Regions from separate parts of the Homo sapiens genome. Here region 1 is linked to region 2. Evidence: promoter capture Hi-C in 16 types of primary human blood cells and fetal thymus (Javierre and others, 2016). All regions are on one chromosome and are shown on one strand. Each heading gives the region's core, a stretch centred on a gene start or on the middle of the fragment in contact. The rest is flanking DNA. Distances are from core to core; before and after follow the strand shown. Region 1 overlaps KIAA0232. Region 2 holds the start of MAN2B2 (mannosidase alpha class 2B member 2).

Region 1 (6,445 bases), core at 273-2,772, 300 kb before region 2:
GCATCATAGCACGTTCATAGGACAGAGGAACAAAGGAAGCTCAGACAGAAGGGAACGCAATGGAGAAACGACACAGGGTCACGTCCTTGTGTGTTCTTCCTCAACAACATACTGAACCATGTATCACATCTATGAATAGGAAAAAGAAATGGTGCTAGCGATTCCATCAGGCAAATGGCCCCACAAAATGGGAAAAAAACTGGGATGAGAAGATATCAAACAAATCCAACGAGCCCAGTAGTTCTCAACCCTGGCTGCATATTCTCATCATCTGGGGGCTTTAGAGAGGCTTAGACTCCTGCCAGAGATTCCAAATGAACTGTCCTGGGCAGGGGCTGGGCACTTTCTGAAAAGCAGATTTGCTCCCAGGCAATTCTAATGCACTGAGAACTGCTGGTCTTCATCCAGAACAGCCTCTTACTCCCCTTACCTCCATGAGAAACATAGCTGGGGCAGAGGCACAGTGCAGAGTAAAAGGAGGAACTTGGCCAGGGTTTTGGACTCTGGCATTGACATTCATGGTGCATTAAGTCCTTTAACACCCTTGAGCATCTACTTCCTCAAAACCAGATCACACCCCCCATCCCCTGCCACAGAGTTGCCACAAGGTAGTTTGACGAGATGACATGCCTGCCCCTTGCACAACACCCCAAAGGACAAGGCTGGAGCAAGTGACTGCTGCGCCCTTCTACCTTGGCACAGAGTAGCGAGGCTGTGCCAAGGGTAAGACCATCTGGGCCCTGCTGGGCTGCTTCCTGCAGCTGCACTGGCCACATGGAAGACTCTCCACAGCTGTTCTCTCTGACGGCTCCAAGAACTCCAAGTTACTAGTTGAGGTTCATGAGAATACCCCAGGCTCTGGGATTAGACAGACTTCAGTCAATTCCAGGTCATGCTATTTACTTGTGATGTAACTTTGCACAAATTATTTAACCTCTTTGAGCCCTAGTATCCTCATCTCTAAGATGAGAACATCACCATTTTCCCTCCTACATTTCTGTGCAAATTCAAAGAGGTGAAGCCTCAAGCACAGTGCCGGGCACACACATTGCACCCATGACCGCTGCTTATCAAAGCCATAGGCTTGGAGGCGTGGTTGCCCTAGGGCGGCTGGGGAGGATGCCATGTGTCCTCTGCTGAGGCTGGGAGGAACCCTGGCTTCATCTCTCCTAAGGAGGCATCTTTTCCTTGGCTGACTTCTCACTCCATGGCCCACTCCATATGGCCACCACTTATACTGGCTGAGGGGCATGGAGTGGATAGGACATGGTTTCCTTGACAAGGATAGCTCAGAGGCAGGCAGGCCCATCTCCACACCCCACTCCTTCATTTTCTCTTCCTGCTTTAGGAATTCTGTACATACAAGAGGGTTTTATTGTGCCACAGGGTATTTGGAAAAGGTGATGCTGAACTGCTGCTGATAGTCTTCATGATGCTCAAGTTGACCACCACCCTGTTTCGGGCTATGACATGCCAGCCACTGTTCTAGGCACTTTACCTTACAATGAGGGCATTCTTCTAGCCTCCTTTTATACATACAGACTACAGAGGCACAGAAAGGCTCAGTCAGCACCCAAAGCCTAATAGCTGGGGAAAGAAGCTCTGGATTCCAATACAGTTCTCAATCCTGGGCCTTTCACCACCTGTCTGTACTGCTTCCCTGCAGGACTCTCTGTCTTTAATGCTAAAATCATCCAGACGCTTACATTACTCGAGTCTTGAAAGCACTGAAAATCCAGGGGCGTGAGCTGTGGAGACTGCTGTTTGGGACGGCACTCCTGGTGCACAGAGTCTACAAGGCCCTCTGTGGTCTGGCTCCCAGCTGCCTGGCTGGCCTCATCCCCACCACACTCCCATGCCATCCCTTCTTTGCCAGTCATGTTGGGGGCATACCCAATGCATTCCTGTCCCTGCACAAGCCACTGCTGCCTGGCACCTCTCCCTGCAGGCAGCCCCAGCTGTCACATGGTCTGTGCCCTATTTCCTCAAGTCCCTGTTGAGAAGGTACCTGAGCAGGGGGAGGACAGGGACACGATCTGTTTGCCTATGCATTCCCAAGTCTAGAACAGTGCCTAACCCAAGTGCTGAAGGGATGCACATATGAATGCGCAGCAAGGCCAGCAGGGGGCAGACTGCACAAAGCTGGGGCTTTCTTATATGGTTACCTGAACAAGCTGCCTCTTTTCTGAGCCTGTTTCCTCGCCTTACTGTAAAGGGGACAATGCTACTCTTCCTTTCCAGAGATGCTGTGAGCTCCCAGGTCAGCCCCTGGCTCAGAGCAGCAACTGCTTGTGATGAATCATATCCAATATTAGAAGCATTAGGAGTCCCCAGCCACTTCTGCTGAGTAGGTAAGTGACTACCTGTTTTCTTGGCTATCCTTCTGAGACTAAATGCCCCAACCCACATAAGCTAAAGAAGGATGCTTCATGATGCTACAGGGCAAATATGCAGGGACTTAACTCACAGTGTGAGCTAAAGGTCATTCAAAAGAAATAATTACCAGTATTTATGCACTGAGAGTTTCTCTATATACCACTTCACTGTAAAAACAAAAATATTATGTACAAACACCAGTATCCACTAAGAGACTGTACAGATAACCAGGAACCTAGAGCTAAGAGGTGAAACTGGATTCTTTACTAACTAATGACAGAAAACTGGACTAAGGGTGCTAAGGTTGCCCTTTACTAAAGAAACATGAACTCTGTGTCTCAAAATCATCCTATGCCACTGCAAGGAATTGGTTCTTTTCCACAAGGTGGCATCCTCCTCTCCCTCCTAGCTCTTCCTGAGAGGTCCTCTGTGGCACAGCTGTGGCCACATCCCACCTTCATTCCATTAACTGTGTCTGTGTCTTGTACTTGCCCAGTTTACCAGACTGGACACACATGAAGGGAAGCTCTGTGTGTCCTACTCCTACTGCCCTGGCATCTACCTTGGTACCAAGTGCAGGCAGCTGCTGTAGAGGGCAAAACTTCTGGACCACAAGAATCACAACCTACATTCTAGCCCATGCTTAATAGTTAACTGTGTGATTTCGGGCAAATTACAGTACTAAACTTGAGACTCAGCTTCCTCATCTGAAAACTAGCGGGGGGCATCTCCTAAGGTTCTTGTGGGAATTATGTAAAAGAAAAGCTTGAGAGCACCTTGCACGCAACCAAGGCTGTCCAGATATGAGCTAATGGTAGGGCGGCAGCAGCAACGGGCCTTCAATAAACGCTGTTCAATCAACGAAGACGCTAACAGTGAAGACTCAGCTCTACGCTCTCCTTATGACCCAGATGAACCTCTGGGAAGGAGGAAGGCAGGGTCCTGGGAAGCTGTCTGTGGCTACAGACCAGAGAACAGCAAACGCTCCACTCCTAAAGAGTCAACCTGGCCAAGCTGGCCTTCCATCCCATCAGCTATAGCCCATGCTGCCGAGGGATGCCAGGGAGGCTTTCCGAGGACAACACAGGCGTGTGCAGGGCATCGTGGCTAGTGAGAGAGAAGTCACTTGGCTCCACACTAACTACAAATTAGCTGAGGGGATGTGACAAACACGTGAACCCGTAAATTTAAATGCAAGAGATTTGCATAACCCCTTCGGGACTCTGACAGGAGACTGGTGTTAAATAAATGTGGTAGCCAATAGAAGCCCAGGAGACCACAATCTGGACAAGCTGAACTTCTTGAGCTAATCAATTCTGGTTGCATCCTTAGTTCCTACTTCTCCCAAAATTTCAATTCAGGGTTTCTTAACAACTTCTGGGTGTCTACCTGGAAGGCCTCACAGACTGCTCATTCAAAAAATACCCTAAACTAAAATCTTCCTCACCGCATCAGCGCCCACTCCTGTCTCCCTCTCTACCTAGACTCCCATAACTACTCCTCATAGAAAGTAATCCAACAAACTCCTCCTCTACAAAACCTCTCGGTCCTGTTTCCTTTTCTCTGTCCCCGCTTTGATTGCCTCAGTCCAGACCTTTAGCGTATGCCTCCCAAACTACTGCAAGGGCTTAAAACCCTGGCCAATAGCCTTCAGTTTTTCAATTCCATTTCCACTCTGTTACTAGAATTGTTCTAAACAACATCTGACCTTGACAACCTCCAATTTAAATCCTGTCAACGGCATTCCCTTCCTGCATGTCAGACGCTACCTAACCTAGCCAAGCCCTCAAACCTTCTGACAGGCTCCTGCCCTGTCTGTCTCTCCCGCGTCAGCTACAACTCAGCTGAGCCATGGAGCCCTGTGCTTTCCCCTGGCGGCGACCCTCCTGCCTCTGTGCAGGCAACTCTCTTCACAGGGACTGCCCGCTGTTTCCTCCTCTGTGACTCAGTGGTGGCTTATACACACCTCATCCATGGTCAGTAACGCTTGGATATATTTCCATGCCTTTCCCCTCCATCAGATTGTGGCTGTTTCAGAGCAGGGCCCAGTTCTCATTCCTCCCTGTGTCCCCAGTGCATGACAAAGTGCTACCCACACAGAAACCTCTTGGTAAATGTTTCTTGGACTGATATTCATAGAAAAAGAAATTATTGCTCTTAACAAATTACAAATTGCAATGAATAAATGAACTAACAAAGGTCTCCTTACCTTCACACTCTGATGCAGGAAAAAGAGGAGAGTACAAGGCTTTTTCCCACCAGGTCTGTTTTTCTTGACTTCTATTCATTCCTTGTATATCAGTGTTCAATACAGGGAACTGTTTAGATTAAACCAAATACAGAAAAAGTTTATAAACTTTCAGGTTAGAGGAAGAATATTCAAGCATTATTAACTACAGATTATAAACCCAGAACTTTTAAACTGGTGAGGTTTTTTGATTTTTCTTTCTTTCTTTTTGAGATAGGGTCTGGCTCTGTCACTCAGGCTGGAGTGTAGTGGCACGATCTTGGCTCACTGCAACCTCCACCTCCAGGGCTCAAGTGATCCTTCCACCTCAGCCTTGCAAGTAGCTGGGACTACAGGCGGGAACCACCATGTCTGGCTCATTTTTTGTGCTTTTTGTAGAAATGGGGTTTCGCCATGTTGGCCAGGCTGGTCTCGAACTCCTGGGCTCAAGCAATCTGCCAAGCTTGGCCTCCCAAAGTACTGGGATTACAGGCATGAGCCACCATGCCCAGCCAACTGGTGAGTTTTTATAATGTTCTGAAAAAAAGTGCATTTTAAAAGCCAGCGTGTTCACAGTGTATAAAGAAAGTATTGCTTAAGAAGTACTTAGATGGGAAGCGACATGAAAATCTTAACTAAAAAAACTCTTACAAGCCCAAAATATAATGTAATAAAAACGCTCCCAAGCAAGGCAAACTTCTAGATTCCCCAAGTGCATACAGGTAATGGGGAAGCCCTGAGCCTTTACTGGCATGAGGTGCTCTGAAGAGAACAGGGGGAACCCTCTTCTCCCTCATACATTCAGGCAGAAGTAAGTAAAAGAAGAAATGGAATCAAAGAAACTTCCTTTTTTTTTTTTTTCCAAGACAGAGTCTCACTCTGTCACCCAGGCTGGAGTGCAGTGGCACGATCTCAGCTCACTGCAACTTCTGCCTCCAGTGTTCAAATGATTCTCGTGCCTTAGCTTCCTGAGTAGCTGGGACTACAGGCATGTACCACCACCCCGGCTAATTTTTGTATTTTTAGTAGAGACAGGGTTTTGCCACGTTGGCCAGGCTGGTCTCGAACTTGTGACCTCAGGTGATCTGCCCGCCTTGGCCTCCCAAAGTGCTGGGATTACAGGCGTGAGCCACCATGCCTGGCCCAAAGGAAATTCTTATAGGCACAGTTATTGACCTAAGTGTCTTAAAATTATCTTGCTTAGGTGCGAACCAGAAGGAAACTAAGGCTAAAACCAAATTACAAATTCAAATTCCATGATTCAAATTTAAAATAGGAGATAGCCATCCAAATGAGATGAGAGAATGATTCCTGAGAGCGGGAGAGACTCATATCCTTCACATCTGGAAGCTGCCCAGGCCCAGAAGAGGGACCTAGCCTGAACCCAGGCTCTGTCCTTTCCCAGTGGGATTCTCAAGTCCTGGCTGGGCCCCGCCCACCTGCTTGGCCAGTGAGAACTGGATAGTGTGGCCAATGGCAGACAGACAACAGCTGTCATCAGTGACCAAGAAGAGTCCTTGTAGTGTGGTCAATAGAAGACCTGTGGCAGCTTCAGTCACCATGTATACCTGGCATGCTGGCAGTCAGGGCAACCCCCTTCAGTGTGCCTTCCTCACTGTGCCTGAGAGAGTGAGCCTGCCCCAGCTCGCCCAGGGTGAGGCTTGGCCACTGCATCTTTCTACCACCCACATCCCCTAATACTGTGTTCTCAGTAGACATCTGCTTAGTGGAGAGGCCTGTGAACACTGCACCCATCTTCATTGTTTTAAAAGACATTTCACTACGTGTTCAAGTTTAAAATCTAAAGTGTTTTAGAAACAAATTTTTCATCAGTTTCCTAAC
Region 2 (5,761 bases), core at 1,103-3,602:
CTGGCAGCATCAAGTGGCCATTGGATGTCCGGCTCCTTCCCGTGACTCTGGCGGGGCCTGGTGGACGCCCTGCTCTCCCTTCTCCGCTTCACTCCCTTGAGCAAGTCACTTGGCGTCCCTGAACTTTATGTTCAGCAACTATTCTGAAGGCAGGTGGATACCTGGGAGGAAACTAAGAACCCCCGAGTATCGTCCTGGGTGCTCACGCCAGGGCTTCATTCTTGGCATGACTTTTCTGCAATGGGGCGGTCACCCCCGTTTAATAGAAGTGGAATCTGTGGCTCGCAGGGGCTAGTCGTGTCCCCTGGTGCGGGAGCAGGATGGGACCCAGGCTGCCTCACTGTGCAGCGGGGACTCTGACTCTCCATGCTGTATGAAGCAACCTGCTGCCTACCCTCAAACCACAGGGACTATCGCACCCTCATCAAGGGTCACCAGACCCTGGGCCCGGGGGCCAGGCAGATAACACAAATGAGAGAAGAGGGTGAGGGCTTGGGGACACCTGGGATGCCTGGTGTCAGGGGGCACTGCTGACTTAGTGCCAGCTGGCACGGAAGTGCACAGCTGGGTTGCCAGAGCTGGCAGTTTTTTCAAGAATAGACAGAAATTCAGGATTAAATTGAAAGCAATCTCTCCCAGGCATGGAACTCACCGTGAACCTTGATCTAAACAAGGCTGTGAATAGCCCGGTGGGGTTTTGGCCCTGTGGTTTATGCCAGCCTGGCCCTGGCCCTGGCTAGAACTGCCCCATTGAGTTTTCCACCTGGGTCTTTGCCAGGATACTGGGCCAACTGTGTCACCTGGTGACCTCATTACCTGGTATTTCTGCTGGTCCGAGGCGACGCCATCCCACCACAGCCGGAAAAACTCCTGCTCCACAGCGATGAACCGGCGCTGCTGGCCGCGGGCCAGCTCTTCCACCACTGAGGTGTAGACATTGGCGGCGTACGCCCGCATGCTTTCCTGGGGAGGGGACAGCATCATGCCAGCCCCGGTCCAACAAGACCAAGTGTCCCTGGGGCCCCTGCCATTCGCCAGGTGTGTCTGCATGGGGTTGGGGGCTCTGCCCTTCCTTCCCTGCTGCTCACCCCCCACACAGCTATTAGGCACTCGCTCCATACCAGGCTCTCCCCACTGGATGGGATCGTGCTCTCCTGGGGGAGAGGGACGGGGAAACAGACACCCTACATGGGCAGAGACAGGTGCCCTCCCAGCCCAGGGGTCAGGGACAGTTTCTCAGAGGGGTGAGCAAGCTGGGCCTTGAGTGTGCAATTTGGGGGGCTGGGCCCTGAGTGTGCCATTGAGGGGCAGCACAGGAAAGTCTTAGGCCTCAGTCGGGGTGTGGTCCAGTGACCCCAAAGGGGCCTGCTGGGGCTGAAATGAGGAAAGCTGGTGCTGAGAGGAAGAGCTCCCCAGGCTGTCCCTGGCGTCTAGGCGTCTGCCTCCCCAAGGCTGGGAGCTCCAAGGACCACAGCTGTAGTGTGTTCCCATCCGAGTCCCGAGGGCCCTGCACACAGGGTGCCCACAGAGTGCTTACATGAATGGAAGGAGCACCGAGCAGGGAGTCAGGAGGCATGAGGGTTATTCCCGAGCGACCTTGGGCAAGGCAGCAACCCTCTCTGGGCCTCGGTTTTCTCCTCTGGAAACTGGCTGTAGTGGGCATGCTTCCCCTACCCTTTACAGATGGGGAAACTGAGGCTTAGGGACCAAAGCCCCTCGCCCAAGGTCCTGAGCAGAACCAGGAGGTGACCACAGGTCCACCTTCACCCCTGTCCTGGGGGGCGGAGGACGCTGAGCTGGCCTCCAATATTCAGCCCCGCAGGGGACCAGCCCGGCCCCTTCCCAGCGGGCACCTGACATCCACCTGCTCTGAAGCCAGCCCCACCCTCTCCTGCTCCAGGCTTCCCTGGAAAATGGGTTACCACTGTCAACCCCCAAGCCCCTCCCCAGCCGGGAATGCAGGGGTCCCTCCAATCTGCACCACCCTCCAGAAGGGGAAATGGGGGTTCAGAGGCAGGAAGTGACTGGCCCGAAGTTAGCGACGCAACCAGTCAATGGCAGCGTGGGGTCCTGAACCCACTGAGCCTCCTTCTGCGCCGGCATCGGGCCCCGGGACGCAAACCCACACTCAGATCCCGCGGGGAGAGGGAAGCTGCAGCCTCAGGGGCGCGCGGGGCGTGGTCGGCACCTACCTGCACAGTGTAGACCCAGCCCACGTCCATGTGGCTGTGGGGCACCACGAAGGCCCGGATGGGGCCGGCGGACTGGACCCCTGGCGGTCGCAGCAACAGGAGCGGTGCCAGCAGCGGCAGCCAGCACAGCTGCCCCATCCCTGCGGCAGGCCGGGAAGGTGCCAGGCCCACTTCCGGGTCCGCGAGGGGCGGGGCGGCCGCGCGGGCGGGGACGCGGCCCATTGGCTGCGGGCGGGGGCGGGGCCCATTGGTTGCCGGCTGGACGCCGACCCCGGGAAGCTCGGGAAGGAGGAGCTGGAGGCGCGGGGCCCTCAGCGGGGCAGGGCGCCTGCTCTTTGCGGTTTAGCTCTCCATCCCCGTCTCCAGCTTTCTGGCCTTCCCTCCCTGTCCATCCTTTCAGCCCCATCTCCCCCAAGCCTGCCAGATCTCCCCCAACCAGAGGAGACCCCTCCTCGCCCAAAGCCCACGCTCTGGTGGTTCCTCTCGGAGCGTGTGCCTCTTCGCAATACCTGCATCCCGCCCTCTGGACTCGGCTCCGGGACTCTGAGGCTACCGTGCAAAATTCGGCTCAGCACGGACCCTGTGAGCTCTGCCACCAGGAACCTTCCCTGATAACCCTTTCCCTCCTCTCCCTGGCGTCGAAACCCCATCTGGGCGGCGCCATGGGGGGCTTGTTATGGGACTGTCTCCTTTTTTTTTTTTTGGACAGGATCTCACTCTGTCTCCCAGGCCGGAGTGCAGTGGCGCGATCAGGGCTCACTGCAGCCTTGACCTCCCGGGCCCAAGTGATCCTCCCACCTCAGCCTCCTGAGTAGCTGGGACCACAGGGGCACACTGCCACACCCAGCTAATTAAAAAAAAAATTTATAGAGATGGGGGCCTCACTATGTTGCCCAGGCTGGTCCCAAACTCCTGAGCTCAAGCGATCCTCCTGCCTCCGCCTCTCAAAGTGCTGGGATTACAGGCATAAACCAGCATGCCTGGCTCAACTGTCTCCATTTTAAGGAGGAGAACTGGCTTTCAGAGACAGTAACTGACTTGTCCAAGATCACGCAGTTAGTGGAGGAGCCAAGAGAAGCTTTCTGGGTTACTGGATGGTGACCTGGGGCGACATAGGTAACCTCGCTGAGCCTCAGTGAAATGGGTCCGATAGAGGAGCTGTGAACAAAGTAAGGATGCACCCAGGCTGAGAGCGTGAGCACAGCACCCCTTGCCTGCACTCAGGGGAGGTGCGGTCACATTGGTGCAGCCTGTTTGGGACTGTTGCCTGGAGTCAGCCCTGTCCACTACTCCCTGCCCAAGAAAGCAAGGGTCTGTGGCTTGGGGTTTACTGTCTGAGAACCACTTGGCTGTGCCCCTGCCTGGCATTTCCTAGCGGAACCAGAGCTGCAGCTCTGAGCAAAAGTGCTGGTCCTCTTGTCCATTATGTAACAAATGGAAACTGAGAACAGGTTCTCCAAGCAGGTCTCCCTCCTCCTTCTGTCCTGTCCACCCCCTGGGGACCCCTGCATCCCCATAGCCTCAGGTCAGATGGTCTGAGCCTGACGTGGACAGTACTCACTAACACATGTCCCCATGACCGGCCAGGCTCACAGCTGGGCTCCACTCTCCAGCCTCTGCAACCAGGTGCGGCCACGTGGCTAAGTGCTAGTCAATGGGATGGGTGGGGGCGGGCACTGTGCTCCTCTTCCAGGCTGGCCCCTAACAACCTCCTGTGGGTGAGCCCTGCTCTCTTACTCACCCACTGCTCCAGTGGAGGGCACTCCGAGGACCTCAGGGAGGTTAGAGCCACCAATGGAGGCTCTGAAGAACCACATGGAACCATGAGGAACCCAAAGAGCTGTGACAAGAGGGAGAAATAAGCTTTAATTGTGTTAAGCCACTGAGTTTATCGATAAGGCAGTGTCACAATCTTTGGCAGACTGTATCTGCCAAAGATGGGCTCCACAACATTACCCACCCCCCAAGCTCTTTGTAGAATTTGGTTGACGAGAAAAGCCACACTCTAAAATATCTCAGAACGTTTATTCTAAGCCAAATAGGAGTGACCATGGCCTGTGACACAGCCTCAGGAGGTCCTGAGAACAGGTGCCCAAGGTGGTTGGGCTATAGCTTTATACATTTTATGGGGACAGAAGTTACAGGCAAAGACATGAATCAATATATGTAAAGTATACATTGGTTTGGCCCAGAAAGGTGGGACATCTTGAAGTGGGTGGGTGGTGCTTCCAGGTCAGAGGAGGATTCAAAGATTTCCTGATTGGCAATTGGTTAAAAGAGTTAAGCTTTACCTGAAGAGTTGGAGTCGGCAGAAAGAAATGCTTGAGTTAAGACAATGGGGATGTGGAAGCTAAGGTTCTTGTTACATAGATGAAGCCTCCAGTTAGCAGGCTTCAGAGAGAATAGATGTGCATGTCTCTGGGGACCTTAAAAGGTATCAGACTCTCTGGAAAAGAGCTAGTAAGTAAGGAGATTCTCTACAGAATGCAAGTTTCCCCCACAAGAGATGACTTTGCAAGTCCATTTCAAAATATGTCAAAGAAAATTTATTTTGGGGTAAAATACTTTGATTTCCTTTAGGGCCTGCTCTCTGTCGTGTGTTGCTATACCAGAGTCATGTTAGAATCGGGTATCTGATTGCTACAAAAGTGTTCTGTCAGTCTTAGGAGGATCTCTATGTTAATGTTAATGCTGGTCAGCTGTGCCGAAACTTAAAGGGAGGAGGCTATGATGAGGCATGTGTGACCTCCCACTTCCCATCATGGCCTGAACTAGTTTTTTGGGTTTCTTTGGGGTCCCCTTGGCCGACAGGGGGTCCATTCTCTCAGCTGGGGCTTATAATTTTATTTTTGATTTACAATATGATCTTGACATTCTTCCTATTAGGAGATAGGGTCTATGTCTCCTCTCATTGAATCTTGTTTATTTATTGTTTTTTATTTTATTAATTTTTGTGTTTTTTAGAGATAGAGTCTTGCTCTGTTGCCCAGGCCAGAGTGCAGTGGTGGACTCCTAACTTACTTCAGCCTCAAACTCCTAGGCTCACGTGATCCCCCTGTTTCAGCCTCCTGAGTAGCTGAGACCACAGGTATGTGCCATCATGCCTGGCTAATGAAAACTTTTTTTTTTCTTTTTTTTTTAGATATAATATCCCGTTATGTTGCCCAGGCTGATCTTGAACTCCTGGGCTCGAGGCATCCTCCCACCACCATCTCACAAAGTGCTGAAATTATAGGTGTATGCCACCATGCCCAACTAATTTTTCTTTTCTTTTTTGTAGACAAGATCTCTCTATGTTGCCCAGGCTGGTCTCAAACTCCTAGCCTCAAGGGATTCTCCGAAAGTGTTGGGATTACATGCATAAGCCACTGTGCCTGGCCCATGGGCGGGCTTGTGACACACTTGTTACAAAGAGAATGTAGTGAAAGTTGTACTGTGTGACTTCCATGACATCCATGTTCACTGGAGCACTCGTGCCTGGAGGCCTGAGTTGCCCTGTCAGCAGTCCAACTACCCTGAGGCCACCATGCTGTGAGGAAGCCCAACCAGCCCACATGGGGCAGACCACA

The links. Contacts are between HindIII fragments. The CHiCAGO score rates a contact against its expected background, and 5 or more counts as called.
Region 1: a fragment that was not itself captured here is called in contact with the fragment with the promoter of MAN2B2 in region 2 in 1 of 17 cell types (naive CD4 T cells); the score reaches 5.5 in naive CD4 T cells.

The regions. Positions count from the first base shown.
Region 1 is chr4:6,869,823-6,876,267 of GRCh38, reverse strand. KIAA0232 reads right to left here. Exons shown (of 10, transcript NM_014743.3): 8 at 4,586-4,694. Among named protein-coding and RNA genes, the nearest start is that of TBC1D14, 37 kb to the left of the region's middle. RefSeq lists a silencer at 2,050-2,209. The HindIII fragment of the contact is 3,243 bases long and covers 1-3,143 here.
Region 2 is chr4:6,571,780-6,577,540 of GRCh38, reverse strand. It overlaps MAN2B2 (mannosidase alpha class 2B member 2), which reads right to left and starts at 2,352. Exons shown (of 19, transcript NM_015274.3): 1 at 2,193-2,352; 2 at 817-963. The coding sequence starts at 2,330. LOC105374365 (a long non-coding RNA gene) reads right to left here. Exons shown (of 3, transcript XR_925098.3): 2 at 3,934-4,032; 3 at 3,203-3,350. RefSeq lists a silencer at 2,103-2,562 and enhancers at 1,851-2,619, 2,620-3,387, 3,388-4,156. The HindIII fragment of the contact is 10,372 bases long and covers 1-3,272 here.